7 separate regions of the Homo sapiens genome follow, and all the other regions are linked to region 4. Evidence: promoter capture Hi-C in 16 types of primary human blood cells and fetal thymus (Javierre and others, 2016). All regions are on one chromosome and are shown on one strand. The core of a region is centred on a gene start or on the middle of the fragment in contact, and the rest is flanking DNA. Distances in the headings are between cores, read along the strand shown. Region 1 has its middle 16 kb from the start of GABRA5. Region 2 overlaps GABRG3 (gamma-aminobutyric acid type A receptor subunit gamma3). Region 3 overlaps HERC2 (HECT and RLD domain containing E3 ubiquitin protein ligase 2). Region 4 holds the start of MAGEL2 (MAGE family member L2). Region 5 overlaps GABRA5 (gamma-aminobutyric acid type A receptor subunit alpha5). Region 6 overlaps GABRG3 (gamma-aminobutyric acid type A receptor subunit gamma3). Region 7 has its middle 42 kb from the start of GABRB3.

Region 1 (2,700 bases), core at 121-2,620, 3.2 Mb after region 4:
ATAATTCATACTTTTCGGGGAAGAAGAGTGTTGTTTGTTTTCATTTTATGCCCGAACTTTACCTTCTGTGTTAAAGTGTAGCCCCCTTACTTGGATGAACACGGAGTGTCAAGCGAGCAAAAGAGTGGTCTGAGAGCTGATAGTTACTGGGCACTTGGGCTAGGTGGGCACACCACCTTCACATACATTATCTCAATTTCTCCTCATCTCCCTCCTAGGAGGCAAAGGTCATCATCCTATTTAGAGATGGAAGACCAAAGGGCCCAAATCCCTTGCACGAAGGTCACCCAAATAGTAATTTGGGTCCAATGTCAGTACTTGGACCCAGATCCGTCGGACCCCAAAATCTGTATTCAGAACTGTTTCTCCTGACTGCCAATACTGTTTTTGGTAGAACAGAGTCCCAGGAATCTCAGTTTCCAGTCACTCAGCAGCAGCTTCATCTGTTGAGTGTGTATTGGAAGGCTTCTTTGCTTACGTTAGGAGAAATCATTATGTTTCTTTTAAAACTATGTGGCTCGTTGATGTTAATTTCTTCTAAGCACTTAAGAAGTATTTTAATTTATGCTGGCATTTGAATTAGTATGGCATTATTTCAAAAGATGACAGTAATTCAAAATTCTGAAGGCTGGAAAACATCCAATCAAAACAAAACCAAAAGCTAACAAAGCTAACAACATCATAGTAGGCAGCACCTTTCCTTGAGGAAGGCAAACTGTTCTGCAGGCATATGCCAATCTGGAGATGTCTCTGCTATTTTGTCAAAGTGGGGATTTTAACCACATTTAGCAAGTACTGCTATAGCCTGTGAATGTGAACGATTTAACTCAAATGGAAGTTTAGTGTGAGACTGCGTTTCCCGGGTGCTTGCCACCTCTTTTGTATCACATTCTCAATTCAGATCAGTGTACTGTGGTCTATTTTTACCTCTCCCAACTCAACATACTGTTGGTTCTGTACAAATATGTATTGGGTCTTCCATTGATCAGTAAAATAGTTTTATTGTTCTTAAAAATATATGACAAATTGGTCTTAGGTATCATTCAGCATCTTGTTTCAATGAAGAACTTCTGTATCTTATTCGTCAGCTTTCTTTCTCACAGAAATAGATACCATTCCAAATCTTCTGGTATTCTTTTTATTTTATTTTATTTTATTTTATTTGAGACAGAGTCTCACTCTGTTGCTCAGGCTGGAGTGCCGTGGTTCGGTCATGGCTCACTACAACCTCCACCTCCCAGGTTCAAACGATTCTCCTGCCTCAGCCTCCCAGGTAACTGGAATTACAGGTGCCTGCCAACATGCTCATCTAATTTTTAAATTTTTTTAATTTTTTTTTTTTTTTTTTTTTTTTTTTAGTTGAGACGAGGTTTCGCCATGTTGGCCAGGCTGGTCGTCTTGAACTCCTGACCTCAGGTGATCCACCCACCTTGGCCTCCCAAAGTGCTGAGATTACAGGCATGAGCCACCGCACCCAGCCTCTTCTTTTGATTTTTTTAACCTGTCATGGCTTGCTGAATCAATGCAGCTGAACTTGATACAAGTTCCATGCCATTTCACTTAGGAATTAACTTGTTTTCCTGGGCTTAAAATATCAAGCAACACCCGACCTCATCCAAACTCTGCAGATATATTTTTTATCCAAAAAGTTGTGAATGTCAGCAGGACACCTGGTCTCCTGAATGATAACTTTGTTGGGAAGGTGAATGCAGGCAACTTCATTTTGTAGTGGAGATCCTTGATCATGTTTGGTCAATGACAATATAGAGTGCAAAAATAGCTGATTTCTTTCTTTTTCCTACCATTCATCAACCCAGGGCTGCTTGTTTTTCTTTCCAAGGAAGCTGAGTTTCACATTGATGTGATTGAGGTTCCTCTGCAGGACTCTTCTGGGGTCCTTCATAAAATGTGGATGTCCCTTCTAAGTGATGTTGACATTTTATGAGAGGTCAACTGTCTGGTTGTTGAGAATGATGATCATTCTCACTATAGATGCTGCAAGAATGGACCACGTGCTGATATTCCCACACTCTCCTCTGTTACTTGTTCAGAGCCTTACCGATGGTGTGTGGTGAAGGTATGCTAAACTTTTACATTGGACCTGTTGTCTCTGCCTTTCCCAGCACTTTTACCCTCTTACCTATTTTATTTATCTACAATAAACTATTCCTAGTGTGTGTGTGTGTGTGTGTGTGTGTTTAAGCTACCAGACATGGATATTTCCCCTCCTTCTTGGCAAGTATGTGGTCAACTCTAGATGTATTTGAAGTCCTATTTTTAAATACAGGCTGAAATGGGTATCATAAGGTCCAACATTTGTGTCTAGGGGAAGCAAACAGGGTGTGAAACACTATATCCTGAAAGAAAATAATCTTCCAATTCCTTGTAGAGAAGCAAAACACATTTATATGCTGACTTGATGTGCAAGTTTCCAAGGCTTTCTGTACATGCACCCAAATTAGGCTATAAACACCTAAACCTTTAAAAATAGCTTCATAGTATAAGCATTGTTATGCAATTTGCTTTTTTTAAATTTAAGAATATGTGTATTGAAAACAAAATGAATTATTTATGGATAAAAAGATATGATATCTTAAGTTTGCTTAAAAGTAATTCTGAGGGTATGAGCGAGTGAGGGTAGAGATGTCACAGGACTGGCCGTGAGCTGATAGCAGTTGTGGCCGGGCCATGTGTGCAAGA
Region 2 (2,959 bases), core at 347-2,846, 3.4 Mb after region 4:
TTATATACCCAATAATAGGATTGTTGGGGCAAATGTTTGCTCTGTTTTAAGTTCTTTGAGAAATCACCATACTACTTTCCACAGTGGCTGAACTAATTTACATTCCCATCAGCAGTGGATAAGCGTTCCTTTTTCTCTACAACCTCACCAGCATCTGTTATTTTTTGGCTTCCTAATAATAGCCATTCTGACTGGTGTGAGATGGTATCTCATTGTGGTTTTGATTTGCATTTCTCTAATGACCAGTGATGTTGAGCATTTTTTCATATACTGCATATATGTCTTCTTTTGAGAAGTGTTTGTTTCATGTCCTTTACCCATTATTGATGGGGTTTTTTGTTTTTTGCTTGCTGGTTTGTTTAATTTCCTTATAGATTCTGGATATTGGACTTTTATTGGATGCATAGTTTGCAAATATTTTCATCCATTCTGTAGGTTGTTTACTCTGTTGATAGTTTCTTTTACTCTGCAGAAGCTCTTTAGTTTAATTAGGTCCCTTTTGTCAATTTTTGCTTTTTTTGCAATTGCTTTTGATGTATTCATCATGAAATCTTTGTTCAGTATATGTTATCTACTGTCCATCTTCTCTTTCTGGAGCATAATACAAACTCTTACTAAACATACTACAGCTAGTGTTACATATGACAGGTAACTGGTATTGAATTGAAATTAGCCTTAAGTGTTCCCAGCATATGGGCCTTTTAAAATTAATTTAGCTAAATAATTATATTTTATGTGCATTAAAATAACAACAGAAAAATTCACATCCAGAATCAGTGTTGAAAATATGTAAGTATGTATTAACCTACTCAAATGCATTAGAACGTAATCACTAAGTATTTGGCATTAGTTTATACTGTTAATCTGGAAGGTTAAACATGAGCCCACGTGGCTAAAAAGAGTAACTCACTCTCAATAGTCTCATATTCTGAATATTTGTATTGCAGGTTCAGGTGACTTTTTCTTGTCACTCAAAAAATGTGCACATGCCCTTAATTTTCACTCCAAAAATAGATGAACAGTTCTTCCAAATATAGATGGGATAGGAATCTTTTGGCTGACAATCACTCAGAGATTCAGTCGAGAATTGAATCTGGGGTACTCTGCTGTGCTAGAAGTTGGCAGGCCTGTGTGGCCTCCATAAATAAAACTAATTAATCTGGCTGTTTTCTTAAATTCCCATATTGCTTGTCTAAATATCAGGTGCTGGCAGCTTTTTTTTTTATAACATTCTCCCCCCACCACTCCCTACCATCCCCCTGCAAAAGGGCACACACCTCATTTTTTTAAGTTGGAAGGAAAGGGAAGGAGAGAATATTAATCCGGTAAATGGCACCCGCAGAGCAGCCACTGCTCACTTTCAGGGTCGCCGTGAGCGGACATCTCTGCAGTGCTGCTCTGGGGTAAAGCTCAGCTGAGGCGATGATGGGTGTCAGTTGGCCTTTTCAATGGCACCTCGCTAGGGGCTGAGTCAGAAGAAAATCCAGCATCTGTTCCCATTCTCAGTTCAGCTGCAGCCCCCATGGATGAGGAATGTTTCCAGAGAAGAGAGGTAGGGGTGGGACGGGGCGAGGATGTAGAGCAAGGAGAGGGAAGAAAGTGCAGGGGACAGGACGGTAGGCTCTGACAGTCCTAGGCTGAGCTCAGACTCTGCTCACGGTGCCGTCTGGAAGACACTGCGTCCCCAGCTCACTCTTCAGCTGCCCTGAGCATCGACACATACTCCACAGGTGCACACTGGACTGCTGCGGGCTCCTCTAGGTTGACATAAAGAATTCCAAGTTGAGAGAGCTCGAATACTGATAGCAAACCGTGTAGAACAAGCCGTCAGTGTTGTAATAGGGTGGGTTGGTCTTGGGAATCTTTTTGCTTTTCTTCTCAGTTTTGTTCTGATGTCCCCTTACTGAGCTGGTTATATAGACTGGAAAGTACTAGTCCTACCAAGATATTTGCATTTTTGTCAGAGGACACATGACGATTGAAAAAACCGTTAGGATCCAATATATACATCCTACATATTTACATATTTAGATAAACAAACAAGCAAAAGTTCTAGCCAGGTAAGGAAGAAATTTGGGAAAGGCTGAGAAAGGTTTCCAGTATTTTTCAGCTTCTAATATGTATTTGTTTGCCTAGGACTTTACTTAGTGAGCCTACTGCTAAGACCATACTCATGTTCTAAATGCTCAGGGAAAGCTAACAATGCCTACATTAGGACAGTTCTCATCCTCAAGGCAATGAAAGCCTTTTGAGGCCCAAACAGTATCATCAATCCAAATTTGGAGCCAGATTCAAAAGGGCAGCCAGGAAGGTCTGGCCATCCTATGGTGATCACACATATGCCCCAGCACAGAACTGACCATCTCTCCTAAGATGTAAAGCATGCTTAAAGTGGGAGTCCTAGATTCCTCAGGCAACTTCTTCTTCCTCTTCCTCTTCCTTTCCTCCTCCTCCTCCTGCTCCTCCTCCTCCACCACCTCTTCCTCCTTCTGCTTCTGCTGCTTCTTCTTCTTTCTTCATTCTTCTTTCTTCTTCTTTTTTTTGACAGGCTCTCACTCCTTCATCCAGGCTGGAGTGCAGTGGTATGATCATGGCTTACTGCAACCTCTGCCTCCAGGGCTCAAGTGATCCTTCCACCTCAGCCTCCCAAGTAGCTGGAGCTACAGGCACATACTACCAAGCCCAGCTAATTTTTGTAGTTTTTGTAGAGCCGGTGTTGCATACCTAAGCTAAGGTGTTGCACACAAGGCTGATATGTCACATACCTAGGTTGATAGCTTGGGATCTAGGGTAATTTGTTGGATATCCAGAGCTGTGTGCCACCCCTCCTCCATAGGCACCTTCCTAGGAATTTTGTCCTCTCTCTGTTTGTGCTTTCACCTGAAAGAAAGATTCTTCATCAAGGAACGCCCAGGCCACAGAATGAACAGGGTGATAACTTTAGCAATCAGGGTAAGCA
Region 3 (2,763 bases), core at 132-2,631, 4.5 Mb after region 4:
GACAGGAAGGAGGGACTGGCCAATGGCGAAGACCTCACCCCACTCTGATCCCAAGTCTCAGATAAACACTGAAGATGCAGAAACAGAATCTCCCATCTTCTGAGTACCCGAGGCAGTCTCCAGTCCTCAGCACGTGGCCGGGGCTGGCTCTGCCAGTGCCTGCAGCTGTGCACAGAGCTTCCGACGGTCCACCACCGTCAGGCCCTCAATGCTAGGCACGGAAGTCAACAGCACCTCGTTCGCTTCCACAATGTTGGTGAAAGGCACGATCAATATTAAAAGTCTTTTCTTTTTCTTTTTTTTTTTTTTTTTGATACAGAGTGTTGCCCAGGCTGGAGTGCAATGGTACGATCTCAGCTCACTGCAACCTCCGCCTCCCGGGTTCAAGCAATTCTCCTGCCTCACCCTCCTGAGTAGCTGGGACTACAGGTGCATGCCACCACAGCCAGCTAATTTTTTTTGTATTTTTACTAGAGACGAGGTTTCACCACATTAGTCAGGCTGGTCTCGAACTCCTGACCTCAGGCAATCTGCCTGCCTCAGCCTCCCAAAGTGCTAGGGTTATAGGCGTGAGCCACCGCGCCTCACCCTAAAAGTCATTTTTATTGGTAACAGTCTCAAAAACTAAAAGCAGATATTCAAGATATCTACTGTCACTCCTCAAACAGATAGTACATTTTAACTCAAGAGCAGGCACAGGCCACAGCGACACAGTCTCAAGCGGCCGAGAAGCTCACCCAGGAAGCGGAACATGCTGCTGTGCACGGGTGCTCTGGCGGCCGGGCTGAGCAGGTAGCAGTCTCGGTTGGCCCCAGACTCATCCCTCCCGTTGGGTGTCACGATCAGCAGGGGCGTGAGTCCGTTCTGCAGCTCCTCACAGATCTCAGCTATGGACTCGCTGTAGCCGCCCCCACAGTCATCCACAGATTCACCTGCAGGGGAGAAGCAGCCACTCGAAGTCCCCTCACACAGTCCTGTGTAAAGAGAGCCCCAACGCTCCCACACCATGTGGCCTCTGTGCTCCCTGTGGGCTCAGGCGACCACTGCCGGGGACACAGGTGCTCCAGCACGTGGCAAGTTCTCACCCACAAACTTGACTTTCCAGACACGGTGAGGAAGGAGGAGGCTGTCGGGACCAAACGAGCTCATCTTAGCACACATCTGCCCAAAGACAGACTTGGTGCCGTCGGGGCCGGCCAGCCCGCCTTTGCTCCTTGATCGTTTGACCTGGAGAGGAGGAAGCAAGCAAGCGTGAGGCCGCTGCCGCAGCAGGAAGCACACAGTCGGGGATATGCGGCACTGGCGAATGCACGAGGAGGAGGCACCGTGCATGGGCCCCTCCCTGGTCACACACCTGCTTGTGTGGACGCCAGGCAGACCCTGCCGTCTGGGGCGCTCGACTGTGGACACCCGAGACCGCTGCCTCACCCCATTGGGCATGTCGCCAGTGATGTGCCCAGCAGCCCCCAGGACTAGTGTGTCTGAACAAACACACCTTCCAACACGACACACACCACCACCACGTCCACAGCTGCGGCCCGGCAGCACCACCCTGGCACGGACCATCCTCACACCCTAAGCACTGCTGCTACTTCACCATCTTGCCACGACCTCATGAAATAAGACACCAGGAACTCCAAAAGCAGCTCCCCCAGCAGACCAGAACAGACTCCCGGCACTCAAAGATTCAACCCAATGCCCCTGAGACTGAAGCAGACACAGTGAGTGAGTGCCTCAGCCAGGACCAGCCCTTCCCCACATCTGCTTCCACCCATCCCATTTCCAAGCCTTGGGGCCACTCAGCCTCCCCAACACAGGCAGTCACTCCCTGCCCATCCTTCTCATCCTAAGCTACAATTGCTAAAGGCTCAGGGGCCTCCAATTCCCAAAGACACCAGGGCAGGAGCCCTAGGGCCCCGCCGCAGCAGGACCTCGGCACATCGGAGGGCAGGTGGCCGAGGCTGTGCATCAGAATCATCTGGGAAGCCCAGTCTGGAAGGATGTCAAAAAGAAAAATTGAAGAAAAAATGGTCCTGAGAATGTATTTTGATGACTCCTCCAGTGAAGCTCTCTTCACCTTTAGCTCACTTAAAGTTGAGTTTAAACAGCTTACAGAGCAGGCTGCCATAACCAAGACTAAAAATACAAGAAGAATGACAGGAGCCACAGTTGCCTGTAGAATGAACTTGTCTGCGTGCCACACACACGGCTAGTGTTCACAGACGTGAGTTCCTGGAAACTCGCGGCAGCTTGTTAAGGCTCCATCATGCCCAGAGGAGACTAGGCTACAAGAAAAGAACAGGACATGCCCTATGTCACGGCGGCTGTGTGAGAGGAGAGGTGCACCCAGCTCCCCGAAGCCCACGGGGCTGCCTCTCCTCCATGACGACACCCACTAGTAGAGGCTGTCTGCACTCAGAGGCTGCAGAAAACAGCAGCCATAAGGCTGGAGGCAGACAGGCTCCTGCGGGACAGCACTTTCTCTGCTCAATAGAAACACAGATGATTTTAACTGTCTTTAATCTGAATTCCCTAAATTTTCAGAAATGTGCATGCAATAACTCTGTAATAAATTTTTAAGTATAAAAAAGTTTTTATGTAGTGATGTTCAGATCCTGCTATAAAACTAAATAAAATTCCCAACAAACAAAACCTTCCAGTAAGATGACCTGTGTTCTGGAGTCTCTGAAACTATCCAGACAGCTGTGAGAGTCCCTCCCATGGCATCCTCTTGGGAGGCGTGTCCCTGAGCCCATCATCGCA
Region 4 (2,848 bases), core at 222-2,721:
GGGTGGGGCCTGGCGGATCACCGGTGGGGCCTGGCGGATCAGCGGTGGGGCCTGTCGCACCGGTGGTGGGCCAGGGCGGATGGGTGGTGGGCCAGGGCGGATGGGCGGGGGCCCCTGGCGCATGGGCGGCGGCACCTGCCAGGTAACGGCTGGTGCCTGCCAGGTGACCTGCGTGGTCTGCCAAGTCAGGGGAGTGGCCTGCCAGCCTTGCTGCGTGGCCTGCCATCCTGGCGAGGTCGCCTGCCAGCCCGGGGGTGTGGCTAGCTGCGCTGGGGGTGCCTGCGGGCCCTGGGGAACCTGCGGAGGAGCCCTTATAACTTGAGACTGGATTTGCAGGATCAGAGGCTGAGCCTGCGGGGCCCAAGAAGCCATCGGCTGTGCAGGTGGGGCCATCGGCTGTGCAGGTGGGGCCGCCGGCTGTGCCATCGGTGCTCCTGAAGCTGGAGGCTGGGTCATCGGAGCTCTCGCACCTGGAGGATGAATCATCAGGACTCCTGGACCTGGAGGCTTGGCCATCGGTGCTCCTGAAGGCTGAGGCTGGGTCATCATGGCTGCTGGAGGCGGCTGGACCATCGGTGCTCCCGGAGCAGCAGGCTGGACCATCAGGACTCCCGGAGTCAGAGGCTGGGCCATCAGGACTCCCGGAGCTGGAGGCTGGGCCATCGGTGTACCCGGAGGGGGAGGATGAGCCATCGGTGTCCCCGGAGGTGGAGGATGAGCCATCGGTGTCCCCGGAGGGGGAGGATGAGCCATCGGTGTCCCCGGAGGGGGAGGATGAGCCATCGGGGTCCCCGGAGGAGGAGGATGCACCATCGGGGTCCCCGGAGGAGGAGGATGGGCCATCGGGGTCCCCGGAGGAGGAGGATGGGCCATTGGGGTCCCCGGAGGGGGAGGGTGGGACATTGGGGTCCCCGGAGGAGGAGGATGGGCCATGGGAGCTCCGGGAGCTGAAGGATGCACCATCAGGACTCCCGGGGTCGGAGGCTGGGCCATCGGGGCTCCCGGAGGTGGAGGATGCACCATCAGGACCCCGGGAGTCGGAGGCTTACCCATCGGGCCCCCCAGCGGGGGAGCCGGGACTATCGGGCCCCCTAGGGCAGGAGGCTGGGTCATCGGAACCACCGGGGCGGGCAGCTGGCCCTGTGGGGCCTCCCAGGCAGGCTGAGGTGCCTGCCAAGCGGCCAATGAAGCCTGCAAGTCAATTGGAGGTGGATCCCAAGGGACTGGCGGAGCCCGGGAGGAAGCGGGCGGGGCCCGCATCAGAACCGTAGGGCGGCTATAGACAGGCGGCTTCGGGGCCTCCGCCGGAGGACTCGAGTCACCCAGATTCTTACTTAGCTGCGACATGTCCCTTTGCTGACAGCTGGTGGGTCTTTTCCTCGGACAGCTGCTGGGCCTTTTCCTCCAGAGAGAAGAGAATGCCTACGTGGCTGTTCAGAGGCTCCCTCCCTGCTGAATGCTGAATAGGAAGTGAGTGCTGCTCGCTCCGCAGCTTTCCGCAGTAAGGAGGAGGGGGGAAGGGGGCTCAATCCCGCCCCTTCCCCGCCCCCGACCACCACAAGTGGATATTGCATAGGGGCGTCTACCGGAGTCCTGGCTGACACAGGATCCCTTCTCACTCTGTCCAGTCCCCAAATGCAGACCAGTCAGACTCCACATGGATGACTTTTCACAGGGGAGTGACAGGAACCCATCCATGTTTTAGAAAAATCACTGTACTGCAGTGTGGAGTGGGAGCAGACCACTGGAAACATGGAAGGTATCCAAGACGGCGGGGGGAGATGGTGTGGTCTGGGCTAAGATGTGAGGCGGAGAATGAAAAAAGCGCATTTACATAAGAGAGTTCCAGGAGTTATAGCAGACAGATACCTGTATTATAATTGAATAAAGGAGTCAAAGACATGGAAAAGGCACACAAGTCCCTGCCTGGAGAAAGTGGGAAGTTGCAGGGACTGTTACTCTCTTAGGGTCCCAGGAGAGGCACACGGGAAGAGAGGCTGATGAGTATTGGCAGACACAGGGCATTTGCGGTGCTGTGGGACTGCCAAGGAGAGATACCCTGTAGGCACTCCTGTATGATGTCTTGGGAGTCCTGCTTGGCTATTCCTCATGAAAATAGAGTTGTGGGAGGGAATGTGGTTGCACTGGGTCTTGAAGAACACAGGCATGTTAGAGACACATGGAGAAAAGGGACAGCAGCGAGTAGAGAGAGAGGAAAAGAAGTCACGGAACTGAGACATGCCACACATCAGTGGAAGACAGCATTTTTAGTATGGGAAAACTGCCTGTGGAATGGCTCGGATGCAGGAACAGAGTAGGTTTCTCAGTATTTTTCATCTGCAGAATGGGAAAGAAATTTAAAAAATGAAAACCAAATAACGCACCTGAAGATAACAAAATGGGTATATAAATAGATCAAAAATTGATATATTTGGATATATAGGAAAAACAGGCAAAGAATAAAAAAATTTCTGGGGAAACTTCTCGTGACAAAAATCAGTTTAAATATGAGACAAATCAAGTATTAACAGATAAAGCAGATGACAATAGTATTATTGGGCAATGCTATACAACTTTATGGTGAGAGGAAGTGATAATCTCAGTAATTGAAAAGCTTTCTGGAAATATACAAAGCACTAAATATCAAGGATGTTTCGTTTAAATAGGCTGTTGGCAGCCTACGGCAGGAGTCCAGAGTGACAAAACGTGCCACCAGGGGGCAGATGAGGACGATGAAGGGTACACCCCACTCCTTCCCAGGTACCCTTAGCCAGGGGTCCTCAAATTTGGTAATTTATGGACCCAAGAGAAGGTATGTACACACTCCCAATGTTATTATTGCCTTAAA
Region 5 (2,700 bases), core at 101-2,600, 3.2 Mb after region 4:
CAGTGCCAAGGGCAAGAATGGAGAACCTCCATGAAGATTGAGGAATACACTTCAGTAGGATTTCAGGAGCTGCAGGGAGAACTGGGGGATTTTAGGATTTGGCAGGAATATCGGAGAGTTCTAGCATGATGTTCCATGGCACAGACTCAGAGCCTCATAAAACAATGTGGTGCCTGTCCATGTTTTCCACCTTAAGAGGGGAAAGCTGTTATTTGGAACCCTGGGATTGACCCTCACTGTCCAGCCAGTGTCCATCTTGGTTTTGTTTTTCTGTTACATTGTTGTTGTTTTTCTAATATGGTGCTTAAGTGATCGGTAATGGGCATTTGAGGAAAACATCACACAATGGTGCCATTTAGAGGTACTCATTTAATGACCTGAAAGTAACAGACAAATAAACAGAAGAGACATTTTTCAGAAGTCATTAAATACTGGGGAAGAACAAAGTTTAAGAAGACAGATAAGCTGCAGCTTAAAACAAGCCCAGTTCAAGGTCCAAAGTAATTTCCAGTCAAAATACGTCTGCAGTTGCCATTATCGAACTCACTGTATGTAAGTCAGAAGTGGTCATCCATATAAGAGAAGCACGTCACACACTGCCTTCACTAGCACCCGTGGTGGAATGACAATACCGAAAAGATTTTTTCTTCTCCAGAAATGACGCCACAACTTGTACTCTTTCAAGTACCAAATAAGGAAAATGTTGGAACTGAGAATATGGCATAAGTGGGACATGTTTTGTAGAGAATATGCATTCAATATAAGGAAATAATTCCTATTTTAAGAGAACCTAGTGAATTAACCCAGACTAAAATTGAAGGGTAAGTCACCAAATTTTCAAATATTTCTGTTATGTCTAAGACTGTTGTTAGTAATAGGGATATAATCTCAGCTCACAAAAATTTACTTCCCCAAAGAATGGAGCCTTTATTTGTCCTTGAAGCACTCGTGGACTCTGGTCGACCTCAGGATGAGCAGAGCTCCTGGGCTGTACTCAGTGCAGTTGAGAAAAGCAGAAGTGGCGCGTCGGCGAGTGTAGGCTGCCTGCTGACCCTAAACGGAGTGAGCGCTTTATGGGCTGAGGACATCTTGGTTTCCACCTGTAGGACTCATCCGTCACACGCTGCACATTAGTGCTCACCAAAGGCATAGCCCTGGATTTCTGTGTTATTTTGTTTTTCAAGTGCTTTCAATGAGCCAAAATGGAACAAAGCAAGCTGAAGTTCCTCCTTAGCTTAGCAGCAGTTCTTAAAGATCATACAGCTTGATAGAGGCGCTAGCCAGTTCCCCAGGCATGTGTGAAGGTCTCCTGTATGAAGGCACTTACACACCAGGGGCTGAGAAAACACAGCATTTGCCTTCTATGATACAGCACGAGCCTTTCTCTCCATGGCTGTGAAAGCGGTGTATTTCATAACCACGCACTGCAGATGAAGCATTTTTGAGGATGGCCTATGGACAGAGGAGGGCCTCCAGCTCATGAAAAAACAAAACAAACAAACAAAAAAAAACCCCTCTGCTCCTACCCCGATAGGCATCATCAGAGCTTTTTAAGAATCTGTTTCTTCCCTCCTAGAGGCTATCTTCAGTTAATACAGCAAGGACAACACTGCAAATCCCCAGCCATGGCCCCATCGTACAAAGAAAGGTCTACAGATAAAGGCAAAAGGCAGTATGGCAGGAAAGGGCAGACACTGACATTCCTCCAAGAAAAGTGTAATTATGTGCAAATGTGTGTAGATATACTGAAACTAATGAAAATAATTTTGATCAAGAAGTAGAATCCGAGCTTTGAAATTCTTAAGCATAGCATTCTATTCCGTCACTGTGGGAAATGATTAGGGTATTTGTGAGTGGGATTCAGAGCCCAGTGGGATGGTGTTTCCCTAAAACTGGCAGAGCAGGAGTGTCTTTATCTCCGCTTCTGGAGAGAGCCACGGAAAACAACGCTCACAGAGACATCACTGTGGCTGCACAGCCTCCAAATGGTCAATCATGAAGTCAAGCCCTTGTCTCTGGACAGCCAGGGCTGTTACCATCTAACACAATTTAGGAACATTTTCACAACAGAGAATGGAGTAGCTTAGAAAACTTTAATTTCACCATTAAGATCTGCTTTTTCTACTAGTACCTCAATTGGTAAGATAAAGAGACAGCAAAGACCTTCCAAAAACTGAGCACCTGGACGTGGTCTAAAATTGAGTTGCAAACTCGGTGACAATTATGAAGTCCATGAGAAGTGCATCATGAAGCCAGATCTGGTTTGACCAATAGTTACACAACTGGGCAGGTACAAAATATAACCTTCTTTTTTCCCCCTGCAAAACTCTGAAGAAGAAGGCTGTTCACTGGGAGGAGCTATGCTAGGCTTAGTGCTATGTCTTTCCGAAGTGTGCAACTACCATGGATGTTGGAGAAAGGGGAATTTAATGTTTTTAAATATGAAATCACAGAGTTAAAAAAGTATACATCTGTGGGCTCCGTACTAACAGGAGTGAATTTTAGCTTGTTAGAGCTTCAAGTATATGCATTTTTATGGTGATGTGAAACTTAGATCAAAAGAGCATTATTCCTTTATTCTTTATTCTCTCATTCTATTCAAAAGGGAATAGCTTTAGGGCCAGCAAAGAATTGATCTGTTAGATGCAATCAATAAAAATGACTGACTTTTAAGAACAGGGTGGAGCAGGCCTGCATCGA
Region 6 (2,700 bases), core at 38-2,537, 3.4 Mb after region 4:
TTAGGACTTGAATGTGCTCTCCTCTGTCTTTCTCCGGCACGAAGTATTAACATACATGTATTTTTCTCCACAGTAAAACCGACCGTAATTGACGTTGACATTTATGTTAACAGCATTGGTCCTGTGTCATCAATAAACATGGTAAGAAGCTCCTTTATTTTCTGATCTAACGGCTGTTGCACCTCTTCTTGTTACATTCTCATTGTGGATTTCTGTTTGAGATTTATCATGCCGGTTTAAAACTCACACTGACTTCTTAAATCTGTAACACTTATTGGAATATTGAAAATGGTAAAAAAAAAAATGAAGAAAGATAGCTTGTGATGGTAGTAGCATTTCCACTTTTAGTTTCTTCTTTCAACATCCAAGAGACCTGTCTTTTATAGTGTTTCTTAGGAAAGGATTCGAGATCACTCAGATTATACTTTTGTCTTCAGTTTGGACTTTGAGAGTAAATAAACTGCCTCTGCTTTTTAGTATGGGATCAAATATGTGCTTTCCCCGAGTAGGGTATTCCCACAGGCTTATAAGCAAATTCAGCTCAAGAACTATTGGATGTGAAAGAAGCCCTTCCCTGTGCAAAAGTGCCTGGCTATGAAGTGAGTGTGGGGGTATTGAAATACGTTAGGGTGAGAGCCTTCTGTGGTGGGCTGAAGGCCACAGTCCACCTGCCAGCAAGGGGTTAACAGGACTACCTAGGATCCCCAAGCAGGCCTGTCTATTGCAGCCTCAAGCATTGTCAGGAGCTCCCCCCGCCTGCGGAGGTCCTGCCTGTGCTCCCTGCTGCACATTTGCTCCTGATTTGGGGAGACGTGAGGCCGAGGGAGGGGAATTGCCAAAATGCTGACTTAAATTTCTTCTTTTCATTGCAGTGTTCTGTGGATGGAAATAACCCCTCCAAAATTAGTAGCAAAATCGTTTCTTTTCATTGCCAGATTTTAAAAGTGTTCTTTTCTCTGGTGATATAAGGGTTCCATGCAGGGGTAAAGTTATATTTGTGGGTGATTCACTTAAAAAATCTCCATATCATCCCTAAACTGGAGCAAAGAAGTGGAATGAATAAAGGAGAATTATTTCACACAACCTATGTGCTGCAGATGGCTGTATATTAAAATCAAGTTGTGAGTGTAATATTCCCTTTTCCTGATACATCATTATTCAGTTGACTGCTCAGAGTAACCCTTTCTTATGTATGTTTCTTGTTCTGGAGTTTTATTTTCTTGCATTTGTTCCACAACCGTTTATTCAACACCTTTACGTCTAACATGTGTTTATGTCTAACACTCAAAGAAGAAGTGCCTTCCTGGATATATGGTTACAGAATTATTTCAGGAAGTCAATTGCATTTGCATATAGAGGGATTTTCCTGCAGGCCTTTAACTTTAGAATTTACTTTGTGCCTCGTGTTAGGCTTTGTTATTGGAATAGACGGGAATTTTCATGTGGAAATCACGGGCTGCAGAGAAGGAGGCCGAGTGAGTGACAGGCTCCTTCACGGTGATACGGCCCTGCTGCAGGAGTGGAAGGGACTTCTCCAGTGAGGTCCTCTTCATCTGAAACTTGACGGATAGGCAAGAGTGTGCTAGGTGGGATAAAGTTTGAAGGTCCTTAGTAACACAGGAGGACAGAGTGCGTCACACAGCTGGGGACGAGGGAGTGATGTGTGGAGAGATGCCTGGAGGGGCACATGGGGGCAGCTGTGACCAAGGCCCTGAAGCTGCAGTTAAGGGTCGGACCTCAGCCTTCTCTTCATCCAAAACAGATCCCTGCGTTTGGAAACTGTGAAAACCTTTTCCCATCAGAGATCTGAGCAGGTCATATTTCATGAGATTTGTTCAAATCCAGGCCGGGCACAGTGGCTCACGCCTGTAATCCCAGCACTTTGGGAGGCTGAGGCAGGCAGATCACAAGGTCAGGAGTTCGAGACCAGCCTGGTCAACGTGATGAAACCCTGACTCTACTAAAAATATAAAAAATCAGCTGGGCATGGTGGCAGGCGCCTGTAGTCTCAGCTACTCGAGAGGCTGAGGCAGAAGAATCGCTTGAATCCAGGAGGCGGAGGTTGCAGTGAGCCAAGATTGAGCCACTGCACTCCAGCCTGGGTGACAGAGCTAGACTTCATCTCAAAAAAAAAAAAAAAAAAAAATCCAGTAAGATCGCTAGTCAGACCCCTCTCTCCCTGAAAAAAAACAAAAACTACATGATGATGCAGAGCTCACATTAGGGACTTGAAATCATGAACTCTGATCCTTCCCTGTGGGGTGAGAAACGACCTTAGAATGGCCGGGGGCATTGTAAGCCCTGGGCCCTGGAGAAGAACACGTGTGCACCAGCATCCTGCTCATCTGGAGGCTGACACAGCAGGTTTCCAAGGCTGAGCTGTGGCAGGATGTGGAGTAGAAAGCTATTTTCTATTAACTCTCTCATTTGTAAAACTTGCCCTGAATATTTTGAAACTTCACTTAGTCCAGTTGGTTTTCTTTCTAGCATGGCTCTCTACCCTACTGAAGGGGTGGGGAGCCTGTGTGGCTGCCTGCTGCTGTGTGAGTTGGAAGCAGCTGGCACGCAGCCCTGGGGAAGCCGAATGCTAGCAAGTGCTTTCCTCTGCAAACAGCGCCGAGGCCGCAGTCAGCGCTCAGCAGGGATGGCACTGTCTAGGCCATTCTGGAGTCTGATTTCCTGAGGAAGACACAACGTACT
Region 7 (2,881 bases), core at 93-2,592, 3.2 Mb after region 4:
AAAAGACCTGAATAGACACCTCACCAAAGAAGAAACATGGATGGCAAATAAGCATATGAAAAGATGCTCAACATCACATGTCCTCAGGGAATTACAAATAAAACATAAATGCTATGCCCCTACACACCTATTAGATTGGCTACATTGAAAACACTGACAATACCAAATGCTGACTGAGCCATAGAGCAACAGAAACTCTCATTCATTGCTGGCTGGGAGGCAAAGTAGTCCAGCCACTTTGAAAGACAGTTTGGCAGTTTCTTATAAAACTAAAGATACTCTTACCATTTGATATGGTTTTGCTGTGTCCCCACCCAAATCTCATCTTGAATTGTAATAATCCCCATGTACCATGGGTTGTGCCAAGTGGAGATAATTGAATCATGGGGGTGGTTTCCCCCATACTATTCTTGTGGTGAGTAAGTCTCATGAGATCTGATGATTTTATAAATGGGAGTTTCCCTGCACAAGCTGTCTTGCCTGTTGCCATGTAAGACATGACTTTGCTCCTTATTCGCCTTTTGCCTTGATTATGAGCCCTACCTAGCCATGTGGAACTGAGTCAATGAAATCTCTTTCCTTTATAAATGACCTGGTCTCAGGCATGTCTTTATTAGCAGCATGAAAACAGACTAATAAACCATTTAATCCACAATCATGCTTCTTGGTATTTATTAATTTGAGTTGAAAATGTATGTCCACACAAAAATCTGCACACGAAAGTTTATAGTAGCTTTATCCATAATTGTCAAAACTTGAAAGCAGCCAAGATATCCTTCAATAATTGAGGGTCTAAACAAACTGTGGCACATTCATATTATTAAAGATTACTCAGAGATAAAAAGGGATAAGCTATAAAGTCACAGAAATTCATGGAATGTTCTTAAATGCATACTGCTCAGCACAAGAACCCAGTCTTGGCAGGGTACGTGCTGTAGGGTTTCAACTATATGACATTCTGGAAAGGCAAAATGATGGAGACAGGAAGAAGAGATTAATGGTTCTTAAAGCTTCAGGGGGAGGGAAGGAGGGTTGAATAGATTAAGAACAGGAGGTGTTTAGGGCAGTGAAACTACTCTGTATGATACTATAATACACACAGAATATGTTACTATTATACTATACTTGTTCTCAAGTACAGATATGTCATTGCACATTTTTCAAATGCTGTAGAATTTACAACACAAAGTGTGAACCCTAATGTTAATAGTGAATAATAAAAAACATCAATATTTTGGGTATACTTGTCCTGGTTCTCAGAAAAGGGACACTCCCACAAGTGGGCACGTTAATAACCTCAATAACAATGAAGCTATTGTTGCTTGGTCACTTTGGGTTTCTCATGCCAGTAAACTTGATGGCTAAAACTGGAGTTGCCATATGGTCAGGGGAGTTGACCCACGTCATTATGAGGAGGAAGGTTACAGACAGGAATATATTTGATTTTCAGATATCCATTGGAGCATTTCTTGATGCTCACATGTGGATGAGTAAATAAAATTATATATATGCAAAAATGATAAACTAGAATTATGTTTAATAATAAATTATGAATTCTACCAATAATATTTAACAACTACTATAGTTTATATTACAGTACTGAGACTGGGTATATGAAAGGAAGGAAGGAAGGAAAGAAAATAGGAAGGAAGGAGCGGTTATATTTTTACATAGAAAAGCTTTGAACATTAAAAAATAATGGGCCCAGAGAAGAATGAACTTTGGCTGGAATGTTAGCTGATTTGGTTTGGAGGTTGGGAGTGGTTGGTATCTAGAGAAGTCTTAACTGTGAAATTGTAGTGTAGCTGAATCTTTAAAGATTAAAGGAAAGTATTACATGATTAGTTTTCTTTAAATATATGACTTCTAAACAGTTACTGCAAGATTTTGTTGTCAGTTTGTTTCTTTCTAAGAGAATATCAGTTGGAGAATATGATTTTATATGCACAAAATAATTACATGGGCATTTTTTTTTTTTTTTGCCAGTCATTGTGGAGCAATGTGAGAGCATGGTGATAAAGGTAAGGAACATGTTTTCTTTTTTTAACTCCTCTTCTGAGTAGCTGTGTGATCTTGGACAAGCCTAAACTTCGTGGGCTACCTTTCGAAACATGGCAGATGAGGACGTCTGAAGCTCCTTCCCATGCTAAATCACTTGATTTCAAACTTGCATACACTTAGTCCTAGAATCAGATGCCCTGATAGAATTCAACAAAACTTTCATTTAAAATTATAGCAAAATTACACAAGTTAAGGTGATACTATTTCATCATTATATTCTTTTAGTCTCTCTCTATGTATTCCTTAACATAATTTAGACAAGCATTTCAACAACAAAATACATAAAATAAGTTATAGACTTATATTACAATCACTACTAATACTCATAGCATTAGTAAGAAGTGAAAACCTTTCATTGATAAAATGCAGGCATCATGGACGTACCTGGTTTCATAAATGGCATAAAATGTTCTGTGTTCTTTGACTGCGTTCCTGAAAAAAAAAAAAACACAAAGAAGGATAAAAGGTAATCTTCATGATTATTGCTAAGGTCTAAAAGTCCTTTAATAAGCATGTTCCCAAACTCTGTCTATTTAAGATATCTTGACTAGCATTTTGTGAAAATCAAGAAATAATATTTAAAGAAATGTACACACATTTTTAAAAAGTAATACACATCGTATTAGATAAGCTTAGGCCCTGGTTTCTGCTCCAATAGTAGCTAACGTGGTTACTGAACCACTGTTTAAATTTTAGTGAAGGAGACAGAAAACAAACAATAAAGATAATTTCCAATTGTGGTATATCCAGTAACAAAATTAAAATAAAATATTATAATAGAAAATCATGTGAGAGAAGCCATATTAAATAGGATGCAAAA

Evidence for each region. Contacts are between HindIII fragments. The CHiCAGO score rates a contact against its expected background, and 5 or more counts as called.
Region 1: a fragment that was not itself captured here is called in contact with the fragment with the promoter of MAGEL2 in region 4 in 6 of 17 cell types (endothelial precursors, M2 macrophages, M1 macrophages and 3 more); the score reaches 20.2 in endothelial precursors.
Region 2: a fragment that was not itself captured here is called in contact with the fragment with the promoter of MAGEL2 in region 4 in 2 of 17 cell types (M0 macrophages and M2 macrophages); the score reaches 7.5 in M0 macrophages.
Region 3: a fragment that was not itself captured here is called in contact with the fragment with the promoter of MAGEL2 in region 4 in 1 of 17 cell types (endothelial precursors); the score reaches 5.0 in endothelial precursors.
Region 5: a fragment that was not itself captured here is called in contact with the fragment with the promoter of MAGEL2 in region 4 in 7 of 17 cell types (endothelial precursors, M0 macrophages, M1 macrophages and 4 more); the score reaches 17.3 in endothelial precursors.
Region 6: a fragment that was not itself captured here is called in contact with the fragment with the promoter of MAGEL2 in region 4 in 4 of 17 cell types (M2 macrophages, M0 macrophages, non-activated CD4 T cells and 1 more); the score reaches 7.8 in M2 macrophages.
Region 7: a fragment that was not itself captured here is called in contact with the fragment with the promoter of MAGEL2 in region 4 in 4 of 17 cell types (endothelial precursors, M0 macrophages, M1 macrophages and 1 more); the score reaches 9.2 in endothelial precursors.

The regions. Positions count from the first base shown.
Region 1 is chr15:26,849,630-26,852,329 of GRCh38, forward strand. It overlaps the pseudogene RPL9P26. Among named protein-coding and RNA genes, the nearest start is that of GABRA5, 16 kb to the right of the region's middle. The HindIII fragment of the contact is 3,890 bases long and covers 1-2,700 here.
Region 2 is chr15:27,007,422-27,010,380 of GRCh38, forward strand. The region is part of intron 2 of GABRG3 (gamma-aminobutyric acid type A receptor subunit gamma3); the gene reads left to right. Among named protein-coding and RNA genes, the nearest start is that of GABRG3, 38 kb to the left of the region's middle. The HindIII fragment of the contact is 6,028 bases long and covers 1-2,959 here.
Region 3 is chr15:28,115,928-28,118,690 of GRCh38, forward strand. HERC2 (HECT and RLD domain containing E3 ubiquitin protein ligase 2) reads right to left here. Exons shown (of 93, transcript NM_004667.6): 87 at 1,086-1,227; 88 at 738-932. Among named protein-coding and RNA genes, the nearest start is that of OCA2, 18 kb to the left of the region's middle. The HindIII fragment of the contact is 5,691 bases long and covers 1-2,763 here.
Region 4 is chr15:23,646,396-23,649,243 of GRCh38, forward strand. It overlaps MAGEL2 (MAGE family member L2), which reads right to left and starts at 1,472. Exons shown (of 1, transcript NM_019066.5): 1 at 1-1,472. The coding sequence starts at 1,347. RefSeq lists an enhancer at 1-759. The HindIII fragment of the contact is 5,160 bases long and covers 1-2,612 here.
Region 5 is chr15:26,877,014-26,879,713 of GRCh38, forward strand. The region is part of intron 3 of GABRA5 (gamma-aminobutyric acid type A receptor subunit alpha5); the gene reads left to right. Among named protein-coding and RNA genes, the nearest start is that of GABRA5, 11 kb to the left of the region's middle. The HindIII fragment of the contact is 3,533 bases long and covers 1-2,700 here.
Region 6 is chr15:27,026,681-27,029,380 of GRCh38, forward strand. It overlaps GABRG3 (gamma-aminobutyric acid type A receptor subunit gamma3), which reads left to right. Exons shown (of 10, transcript NM_033223.5): 3 at 74-141. Among named protein-coding and RNA genes, the nearest start is that of GABRG3, 57 kb to the left of the region's middle. The HindIII fragment of the contact is 5,080 bases long and covers 1-2,700 here.
Region 7 is chr15:26,813,922-26,816,802 of GRCh38, forward strand. No RefSeq gene overlaps it. Among named protein-coding and RNA genes, the nearest start is that of GABRB3, 42 kb to the left of the region's middle. The HindIII fragment of the contact is 669 bases long and covers 1,009-1,677 here.